Regions from separate parts of the Homo sapiens genome. Here regions 1 and 3 are each linked to region 2. Evidence: promoter capture Hi-C in human tissues and cell types (Jung and others, 2019). All regions are on one chromosome and are shown on one strand. Each heading gives the region's core, a stretch centred on a gene start or on the middle of the fragment in contact. The rest is flanking DNA. Distances are from core to core; before and after follow the strand shown. Region 1 overlaps PDZD2 (PDZ domain containing 2). Region 2 holds the start of PDZD2 (PDZ domain containing 2). Region 3 overlaps PDZD2 (PDZ domain containing 2).

What was found. The method cuts DNA at HindIII sites, captures the fragments that hold promoters and counts their contacts. A contact is called where the count stands out against the background at its distance.
Region 1: a contact is called between a fragment that was not itself captured here and the fragment with the promoter of PDZD2 in region 2, in 2 of the 25 tissues and cell types used here (dorsolateral prefrontal cortex and hippocampus).
Region 3: a fragment that was not itself captured here is called in contact with the fragment with the promoter of PDZD2 in region 2 in 1 of the 25 tissues and cell types used here (heart left ventricle).

What each region holds. Positions count from the first base shown.
Region 1 is chr5:31,887,144-31,890,308 of GRCh38, forward strand. All of the region lies in intron 2 of PDZD2 (PDZ domain containing 2), which reads left to right. Among named protein-coding and RNA genes, the nearest start is that of MIR4279, 47 kb to the right of the region's middle. RefSeq lists enhancers at 2,052-2,554, 2,555-3,056. The HindIII fragment of the contact is 3,683 bases long and covers 71-3,165 here.
Region 2 is chr5:31,637,606-31,640,693 of GRCh38, forward strand. PDZD2 (PDZ domain containing 2) reads left to right here and starts at 1,526. Exons shown (of 25, transcript NM_178140.4): 1 at 1,526-1,832. RefSeq lists a silencer at 1,480-1,829. The HindIII fragment of the contact is 21,895 bases long and covers 1-3,088 here.
Region 3 is chr5:31,781,986-31,785,011 of GRCh38, forward strand. All of the region lies in intron 1 of PDZD2 (PDZ domain containing 2), which reads left to right. Among named protein-coding and RNA genes, the nearest start is that of PDZD2, 140 kb to the left of the region's middle. The HindIII fragment of the contact is 7,585 bases long and covers 1-3,026 here.

The DNA.
Region 1 (3,165 bases), core at 662-3,161, 250 kb after region 2:
GTTGACCAGTTCAATGAGTTCTGAAAATCCTACAACGTAGTGGATATTTTTAAGTACACACTTGGTAGGCTCTAGGGGAAAAGCAGATTTTACACACGCACACACAAACACACATACACACACAAAATCGATATGTAGTGTGAATGGAGAGGCAGTGACAGAGTGGGAATTGTGTTAGGAAAGTGACTCTTGCTTCAGAAATGCTTGGAGCACTTTTGGTGTCCTGGGTCACCCTCTCTGGAAGGACTTTGGGTGTCAGTGGAGAGACCACATTCGGAGCCTGAGAGTGGTGTGCACTTTCATCCACAGGCTTAATTTTGTTTCATTTTGCTTTTTGAGATGGAGAAAGCAGTGTTGAGGATGGAGGAGAGCTAGGAGGTTGGCAGCTTTTCCAATAGGAACCATTTTTACAGCAGAGAAGTGCCATTCCTGAGATCTGCAGAGTCTGCTTCTCTCCTCTCACTGTCCTGATTATCAATTGTCCGTTGTTCTGTTGGAACAATAGGGCTGATTTTTCTGTAGGAATCTGACAAAATTTCGCATAGCTGTACAGAGAACTGCCAGTTAGGGGGACAGTGTCAAGAATGACACAGGCTCAAATACTGAGGGTTGCCTGTGCATGCCCTGTGTCTCAAAACTGTCCTACGCTTTGCTTTCAGTCATCAGTTTTATGTGCGGGGGAGGGGGGGAACAGCACTTTTTCTAAAGGAAAAATAAAATGGATTGGTCTGTGGGGGGACAGTTACACATAGCTTTGAAAGGCTGCTTAGCCGAAGAGTGGCGAGAGTCGGGGAGGGAGTGGGAGTTGTTCAGCATTGTTAACTTCCAACATACGATGGGCATTTGGGCACATCAGAGGGATACAACCCTATTTTTCGAGCCTGGGTTCCAGGGGTGCAGCTGTTTTGGGCCATTTACAGCAGTGGAATTTGGATGGCGCAGATATTGCCCATAGAAGCTTTGCCTGCCTGCCTTCCTTTCTTGTTTTGTTTCCTTTTCTTTTTCTTTTTTATTTTCTCTTCTTTCCTCTTTTCTTCTCTTCTCTTTTCTCTTTCCTTCCTTCCTTCCCTTCCTTCCCTCCCTCTGTCACCCAGGCTGGAGTGCAGTGCTATGATCTCAGCTCACTGCAACTTCCGCCTACTGGGTTCAAGTAATTCTCCTGCCTCAGCCTCCTGAGTAGCTGGGATTACAGGCGTGCCGCCATGCTTGGCTTAATTTTTGTATTTGTAGTAGAGATGGGGTTTCACCATGTTGGCCAGGCTGGTCTCAAACTCCTGACCTCAGGTGATCTGCCTGCCTCCGCCTCCCAAAGTGCTGGGATTACAGGTGTGAGCCACCGCACCCGGCCCCATTGAAGGTTTTCTAAAAAGAAAATGGGATTGGATTGGTCAGGGCTACGTACTCCGATTTGTGAGGCAGTGGTGTCTTTGTAGGCTTGGCTGTTAATGAGGTGGTTTATACTCTACAAGGCATGTGAAATTATTTGAGGGAGAGAGGAGAATGTGTTTTTCTAACCCTTACTATGTCCTAAACACAGAGGGTAATCAATAACCAACTGTTGAGGATGTAGTTTTTCTTAACACTAAATCATTCCCTGAGAGAAGTCCGTAAGCTTGACTGATTTTAACTGCCTGTGAGTTGGAAATCTTTGATAAATGCTCTGAGGGATAGGAAGTCAGTCTGGGATGATACAGGGCATGGGATCTCACCATCGGGAGAGTGGTCCCATTCGATAATGGGAAAAACTCATGTTGGATGGAATGGAAATGTTCCCAGTCAAGATACCCTCATGCCCAGAGCCAGGAGAAACTTTAGACCAACCTCCGTCGGCTTCAGTTTCTCCTTCCTCAGTTTCTTGATGCTCCTCCCCGAGCCCCCTCCCCTATCACGTATGTTTTGCGGGTTGTTCTGTTGTTTGTCTTTGAAAAGATTGATTTATACATTTGTACAGAAAATCCCAGAGCCTTTTCCTCTTAATGCTATAAAGTTGCTATTTAATGAGGCGTTTGGAAGGCCACCCAGCCACTTGAAATCTGAAGTGTCACGCTGAGGGATTGTTACCAAGAAGTATTTACATTGGAGCCGTGGTTTTAGCTCTCTTTTGGCAATTGATTAATTTAGTGCGAGAGCCAATAAATCCCTGGACAGATGAGGAACAGATTGGAGGGGAGGAGCTTCTGTTTCGGCCTTTTCTTTTGGAATGCTTTTAACACTTGGCCAGGGGAGGACTGTGTCCTTTTGTTTTGTTAAATAGTTCAAGTTGGCCATTTTCTGGTGCTGTTCAGAAAGGCCTGTCAGGCCAACAGGAGGGAAGTGATTGGTTGTCCTGGACCCTGGCTTTGCACAGACCTCACACTCCTGTTGAGAAAATGTTTGAAATGCATTCTCTTAAAAGTAGGACTGTGTAAATAATAGATTAGGTCTGAAAGGGCCATCTGAGTATAAAGGCAGTGGGAGCCAAGGGGGAAAAGCCCTTTACTCGCCAACACTTGCTTTAAGTGTCATCTTTCTAGAATTTGAAAGAGGGCCTGGTGGTGGCCTTACTGTGTCCGAGTAAGGGACTCCTCTTCTTGGAGGCATTAAGACACACGGGGGCCGGGTGCAGTGGCTCACGCTTGTAATCCCAATACTTCTGGGAGGCTGAGGTGGGCAGATCTTTTGAGGTCAGGAGTTCGAGACCAGCTTGGCCAACATGGTGAAACCCCCGTCTCTACTAAATGTACAAAAATTAGCCGGGTGTGGTAGTGCACACCTTGTAATCTCAGCTACTCGGGAGATTGAGGCAGGAGAATTGCTTGAACCCGGGGGGGCAGAGGTTGCAGTGAGCCCAGATAGTGTCACTGCACTCCAGCCTGGGCGACAGAGTGAGACACTGTCCCCCCTCCAAAAGCAAAAACAAACACCCCCCCACCCCCACCAAAACAAACAAACAAAACCGTAAGAAACATTGCCCTCCTGAGCATTGACAAGGCTGGGTTGTTCTTTTTTGTGATTTTTTTTTTTTTTTTTTTGTGGAGAGAAATCCAAGAGAAGCTGTGGAGCAGCACTGTCCAATAAAACTTAATGGGCGATGGCGGTGTTCTTTCTGTGAGGTGGCCAATACGGCAGCCACTAGCCACGTGTGAAATGTGACGCACATGACCCAAGAATTGAATTTTTCATTTT
Region 2 (3,088 bases), core at 276-2,775:
TGGGTACAGAGGCTGAGAAAACACGGGACAGAGTGGTGGAAGATGGGCCTGGGATTGTGGAAAAAACAGAAAGCACCAGCCCTGTTTGATCCTTCTAGAAGGATTTTTTTGTAGTGTCCCAATGATACCTTTCATTGATAATGGTTACCATTTCATTGAGCACCTCCTAAGTGCTGTGCTGAATAGCTGTGTTACTGCTAGTTCCAGCAATCCTGCATGGTAGGTGTTTTCTCTATTTACACATAGGAAGAGAAGCTCTGAGTGCCTGAGTGCCCAGCTTGTCATATACGATGCTTGGATTTGTGCAAGCATTGATCTCAATGGCCTGGTAATTATAAAAGCTGAAGAACAGCTGAAATCAAGAACTTCTCCACCCCAGCCCCTGAGGACAATACCACCTCCAAATGCCTTGGGCCCACTCTGGTCTCTGGTGTGGTGGGACAGCGCTGTCCGGTCTGCGCAGGTGATTTATGTCTGCCTGCTTTTCGGAGAGGCCAGAGTTTATTGCCTTGCTGGGCAGAACTGCAGCTGGGGCCTGCCCTGTCCCATCCCCATCCCCCCGAAAGCAAAGATTTCCAATTACTGTTCTGTAGAAAATGTCAAAAGCATTATTCAACTATTCATTATCCCAGGTTTTGCAATTTTTCATATGTTTTTACTCTTATCTGCCAGCACTTGAAAAAGACCAGCTTTTTCCTCTTAAGAGAGCTTAATTTGCAGAGCTGTGCAGTCTTCCTATTATGTTCTTATCATCCTCTCCCTTTGGTAGGCAGAATGACAAGGATGACAAAAAAAGAACCAAAAATATTTGAAGGCCTTCCTGAAAATCCACCGGAATGAAGGATCCCAAAAGCCTGAGGCTCGGTTCCTCGAGTGACCTGGACGGGAGCCAAGGGCGGCTGGCATTAGCTCTCACAGTCCACTCGGCAGGAGCTCGTGGCTAGTGCTCATGGGACCAAAACCACCACCCCAGGGCCATGGGATTCCCCCCCAGGGGCTTAACTGGGGGATTAAGCAGCTCTGAGGTGCCAAGAGGTCCCCTCTCCCCGAAATCCTCGTACCAGTGCTAAATTACCTTTGGTATCCCAAGGACCAGAGGCTAAGGGTAGCTTGGGGTGAGTGGTTAGCTCTTCCCCCATCTCCTGTGGCCCCTCCGCCCCATTCTTTGATAAGGTAACTGACATTTTTCTCTTTGCTGTGTAAAGTGCTATGCAGAGGCAACTTCACGTCCCCTAGCTCGCTCTGTTCCACCTAGATGGCGCCCTAAGCCCCGCCTGTATGGAGATTCGGAGCAGCCATCTCCCTGGATGCCTTCCTCCCACGATCCCCAGGTTTCTGAAGCGGGCGCACCAGGACTCCTGGCTCACCCAGAGAGACGCCTTGCCCGCGGCGGGGCTCGCTCGGGGAAATCCCCGCCCACCTTGTTATTCCTGCAGGGGAATCCCCGCCCCCCGTCCCTGTCACTCGGGGAAGGGAGTTCCCGCCCCTCGAATCAACCAGGGGGAGGGAATCCCCGCCCATCCTGGAGGCTCGGCGGATCCCCTGCGCAGCGAGGCGAGGAGCGGACCCCAGCGCCGGTGCGTGCCGGCCCCGGGCAGCGGGACGCGGCGGGGCGGCGGCTGCAGGCAGCCGAGGAGCCGCAGGCCGAACCCAAGGCACCGGGATTGCGCCTCCCGCGGCTGCCGGCGAACCGCGGCTCTGCAGCTCGGGGCAGGCGCGGCGGCGGCACCGGTGGTGGCCGCGGTGGCGGCAGCTGCGCGGGGACCCGCCGGGCGGCGCCTGGGTCTGGACGCGCGAGGAAGCCGCGGGAGCCTCGGCCAAGCCGCGAGCAGGTGAAGCGACCGTCCCGCTGCAGCCGGGACGCGCGGCTCCGGGTGGGCAGGGGATGGGGGAGGCCCGGCACCCCCGAGACCGTGTGTGCCCAGGAAAGTTTAGCTACAAATCCGGGTGCGGGAATCCCAGCCCTGGCAGGGCGGGGAGTGAGGACGCCGAACCGGGGTCCCACGTTGGGCGGCGCAAACTCCTCTAGCATCCGGCCGGGGACGGGGAGGGCGCAGCCCAGGGGAGGGGGCTAGACAGAGCGGGACCGAGACAGCGGGACAACCGGAGACGCACTGCCGGGGGTACTCAAGACAGGGCCGGGACCTCCTGCTCGGGCGCGCATCCCGGGTCCCCATCCCTGGGCCGTCTTCTGGTCCCTTCCTCCGACAGGAGTGGAGGTACTCAGGTACTCCGGCCTCAGGTAATGTCTTGGGGACCATCCTCCCTCGGGCTTGTTTCATCTCTCAACCCCCGCCTCTTTGCCCAGATGAGACGTTAGACGCGGGGCGAGGGAATGCAGGGGGCGCGCAAAGATCAAGGGCATCTTAGGGCCGGTTATTGGCGTCTGCCGGGGAGATGGGGAACATAGTGATAGGGAAATCCTGCTCTCTCTCTGAAGTCGAGTTTCTCCTAAAATCTGGTTTCTCCCTCCCTCTGTTCCTCTCTCCCTCCCTCGGGTTTGCGTTTGTGTTTTAAGTCTTTGAGCTGCCTGTGGTCCCCGCTATTTGGAAAATCCATTAAAGCGCAAGGCTGAATTCAGCAGCAGGAGGGTCCAGGACCCCTGGCAGGAGTTTGCCAGAAGCTGTCCTCGGCAGCCCAAATCTATGCAGAGACCTTGATAAGGGACACTGGAGTGGGAAGAGGACAAGGTCTGGCATGGGCTGGTCGCAGAGACTGGAATGGCAGGCACGAGGGCATTCCAGAGCTCCAGACCTGCCCTGGGACTGGCCGTTGGGCAGTGTTGGGGGATGGAGCTGAGTCTGAGTCTGTCCCCTGCAGCTGGCCTAACCTCTTGCCTCCACCAAAGGTAGGGTAGGTGGATATGTTTGCCTTGACAAATCGCAATGAAACTACTGGAAGTGGTTGCTGAGTGGCTGCAGTAAGTGATGCCCTGATCTGTCCTTGCAGAGAGACCCCCTGGACCTTCAGGGCCTGTTCTCCAGTGGGGTCTCTGAACACTGGAGGGCTTTAGGGGCCTGGCATCTCTACTGGGCCAGCTTTTGTGGGTTGTGACTTCTGGGTGGTGGCCAGATAGGTACAGGTTGGC
Region 3 (3,026 bases), core at 138-2,637, 140 kb after region 2:
TGTGATCCCAGGTCTGACTCATTCACTCTATGCCGGCACAGTGTGGGTGGCCGTGGCCCATGGGTGCTATCTGCATTCAGGAAGAAGTGAAAGGCCTGTTGAGGCAGGGTAGGGGTGCCGGCTGGGATTCCATATGTCACAAAGGCAGACAGACATGCAGGTCACAGACTCTGAGAGCTTCATTTTGGGGTGGGGTAGAGTAGGGTTGCCATATAAAATACCAGACAGTTTAATTTGAATTTCAGATAAACAATGAATAATATTTTAGTATAAATATGTCCCAACTATTACATGGGACATACCTACATTAAGATATACTACAATATTTGGAGCATACTTATATTAAAACATTATTTCTTGTTTTCAGAAATTCATTTTTAACTGGGAGCTATACATTCTTATTTGCTGAATCTTACAACCCTACATGGGTGGGAAATGAGGAGTCTCCGGAGACATTAGGATGTTAAAATTAACCTTCTTCCTGTGGTCCCAGTCTCAGTCATGCAGGAGTTGGCACCTCTTGTTCTAATTGATCAATAGTTTCCAGGACCATGTTATACCAGTTACCCAAAACACTCATTACAAGTACAGGTATCTGCTCGCTACCACCACCCCCAGGTCTTGGGAATCAGAATCTCTAAGGATTGGATCTGGATCTAGCGTATCTTTAAGAAGCCCAGATGATTCTGGGGTTCAGGCTGGCTTGGAAAGACCACTTTAGATTTTTTTTTTTTTTTTTTTTTTTTGAGAAAGAGTGTTGCGCTATCACCCAGGCTGGAGTGAAGTGGCACGATCTCGGCTTACCACAATCTCTGCCTCCCAGGTTCAAGCAACTCTCCTGCCTCAGCCTCCCGAGTAGCTGTGATTACAGGTGCCCGCCACCACACCCGGGTAATTTTTGTATTTTTAGTAGAGACGGGGTTTCACCATGTTGGCCAGGCTGCTTTTGAACTCCTGATCTCAAGTGATCAGCCTGCCTCAGCCCCACAAAGTGCTGGGATTACAGGCGTGAGCCACCGTGCCTGGCCACCACTTTAAATTTTAAGTTCCCAAAGGTGAGGACTTTTATTTAAAGTTGGTTTAAACTTTATTTTAGATGAAGTTGGTTTAAACTTTATTTTAGATAAAGTTGGTTTAAACTTGATTTATTGCACTCAATAAATATTTGCTGGATGAATGAATGATTTCTGCCTGAGGAGTCATTCCTCACTGGCTTAACCAGTGTTTATCTTGTGGAACTTGGGAACACCAGAAGCATGCACGCGTCTTTCTTTCCATTTTTTTTTCTGGTCTTAAGACTCGTGGGAAAGGACTTGGGTGGAAGGTGTCATGGAGAGAGCCTTGGAGAACACGGGAGGGAAGGATGAGGACAGGACTGGGCAGGAGAGCACCTGAGCTTGCCAGGCAGGGGGCTAGAGCATCCGCATCGGGGAAGGAGGCCAAGTTTTTAATCACCTCCTCAGGCGAGAAGACTTGAGATTTCAAGTTGAGAACAAGTCTTCGGTTATTTTCACATAGTTTCTTTAGTGTCTCACTTGGCACAGTCTGCGTGCTCAGCATCACAAAGAGATTGATACTGAACTTGGAGTCGTCCAACCAGGGTGCTTAAAGTATGTTGGAAATGCTTCAGTGGAACCTGGTGGGTGGCAGGTAATGGCCATTTTGCTAATCTTGGTAATTCCCCAGATCGGCAGCGTGCCTGAGAGTGTCTATTTCCTATAGCACCTCCCTCTGAGGCCTCAGCAATGGAAACATTAGACTCCTGTCCTAAATGTACCCAACCGTCTACATTTCCCCTGTGGAGATGTGCCCTTGTGCCTATGTTGTCTCTAATACAAAGAAGTTTTATTTTTTTCCCGCTTCCAATTTCCTGGAGAAAGGCTTTGCTTAATGGATGAGAACCTGCCTTCCAATCTGCAGGGAGTTTTTGCCGAGTGACGTCATGGACACATAGTGCTCTGACTGTCACTGAGTCTCCGGTCCCCTCTCAATCTGTTCCCTCATCTGTGGCACTGGGACGCTGCCACAGGGCCTCAGGGCTCTGGGAAATGCAGGAGCTGTCTGGAAATTCAGAGCATAAGGCTCCTCGGTAGGGCTCCAGGTCAAGAGTGGAAAAAAGAACATGAAATCCCGGCTTTGCTTGTGACTTTAGTTCTGTCCCTCCCGTCCTCACCTCCTGCAGGCATTCACAGACACCATTCTGAGCGCATCAAAACTGCCTGTGAGTGCCCCACATGGCCACTTTGCTAGCTCCTGTAGTTACACTAAATCCAGAGGTGTCCTCGGGACCTGGGGCAATAGTGAGGTCCCTTCTTCGCAGCCCCGAACTTAGACATAAGGAAGTCAAGTTTTTATTTTGAGAATTAAACTAGTAAATACAACATACAGGGTTGGATAGCCAGTCTCCAAGTTTCCAAGGTAAGACATTGTCCTTGAATGCACGTAGAAAACAAACATCAAATCACAGTGATCTTGTGGAGGATGGACTGAAATCGGATTGTGCTTGTAATTCAGAGATCAGAAATCATTACTTATTGATGTCATAATGTGCACTTTGGAGAAAGTGGGTATGAATAGAAGGGGGGTGGTCAGTGCAAAACAGGGACAAAAACTCTAAGAGTAAGAAGTTAGTGATGCCTGAGGCTAGGCGTGGTGGCTCACGCCTGTAATCCCAGCACTTTGGGAGACCAAGGCAGGTGGATCACGAGGTCAGGAGTTCAAGACCAGCCTGGCCAATATGGTGAAACCCTGTCTCTACTAAAAATACAAAAATTAGCCAGGCGTGGTGGCACATGCCTGTAATCCCAGCTACTCGGGAGGCTGAGGCAGAAGAATCGCTTGAACCCGGGAGGTGGAGGTTGCAGTGAGCCGAGATTGCACCACTGCACTCCAGCTTGGGCGACACAGCGAGATGCCGTCTCAAAAAAAAAAAAGGTAGTCATGACTTTTCTAATGTTTTCTAGTAGTGGGGAGTCTTGGCTAAGTAGACAATTTCCTTTGCAAAGCCTCAACTACAGTGTGGGAGA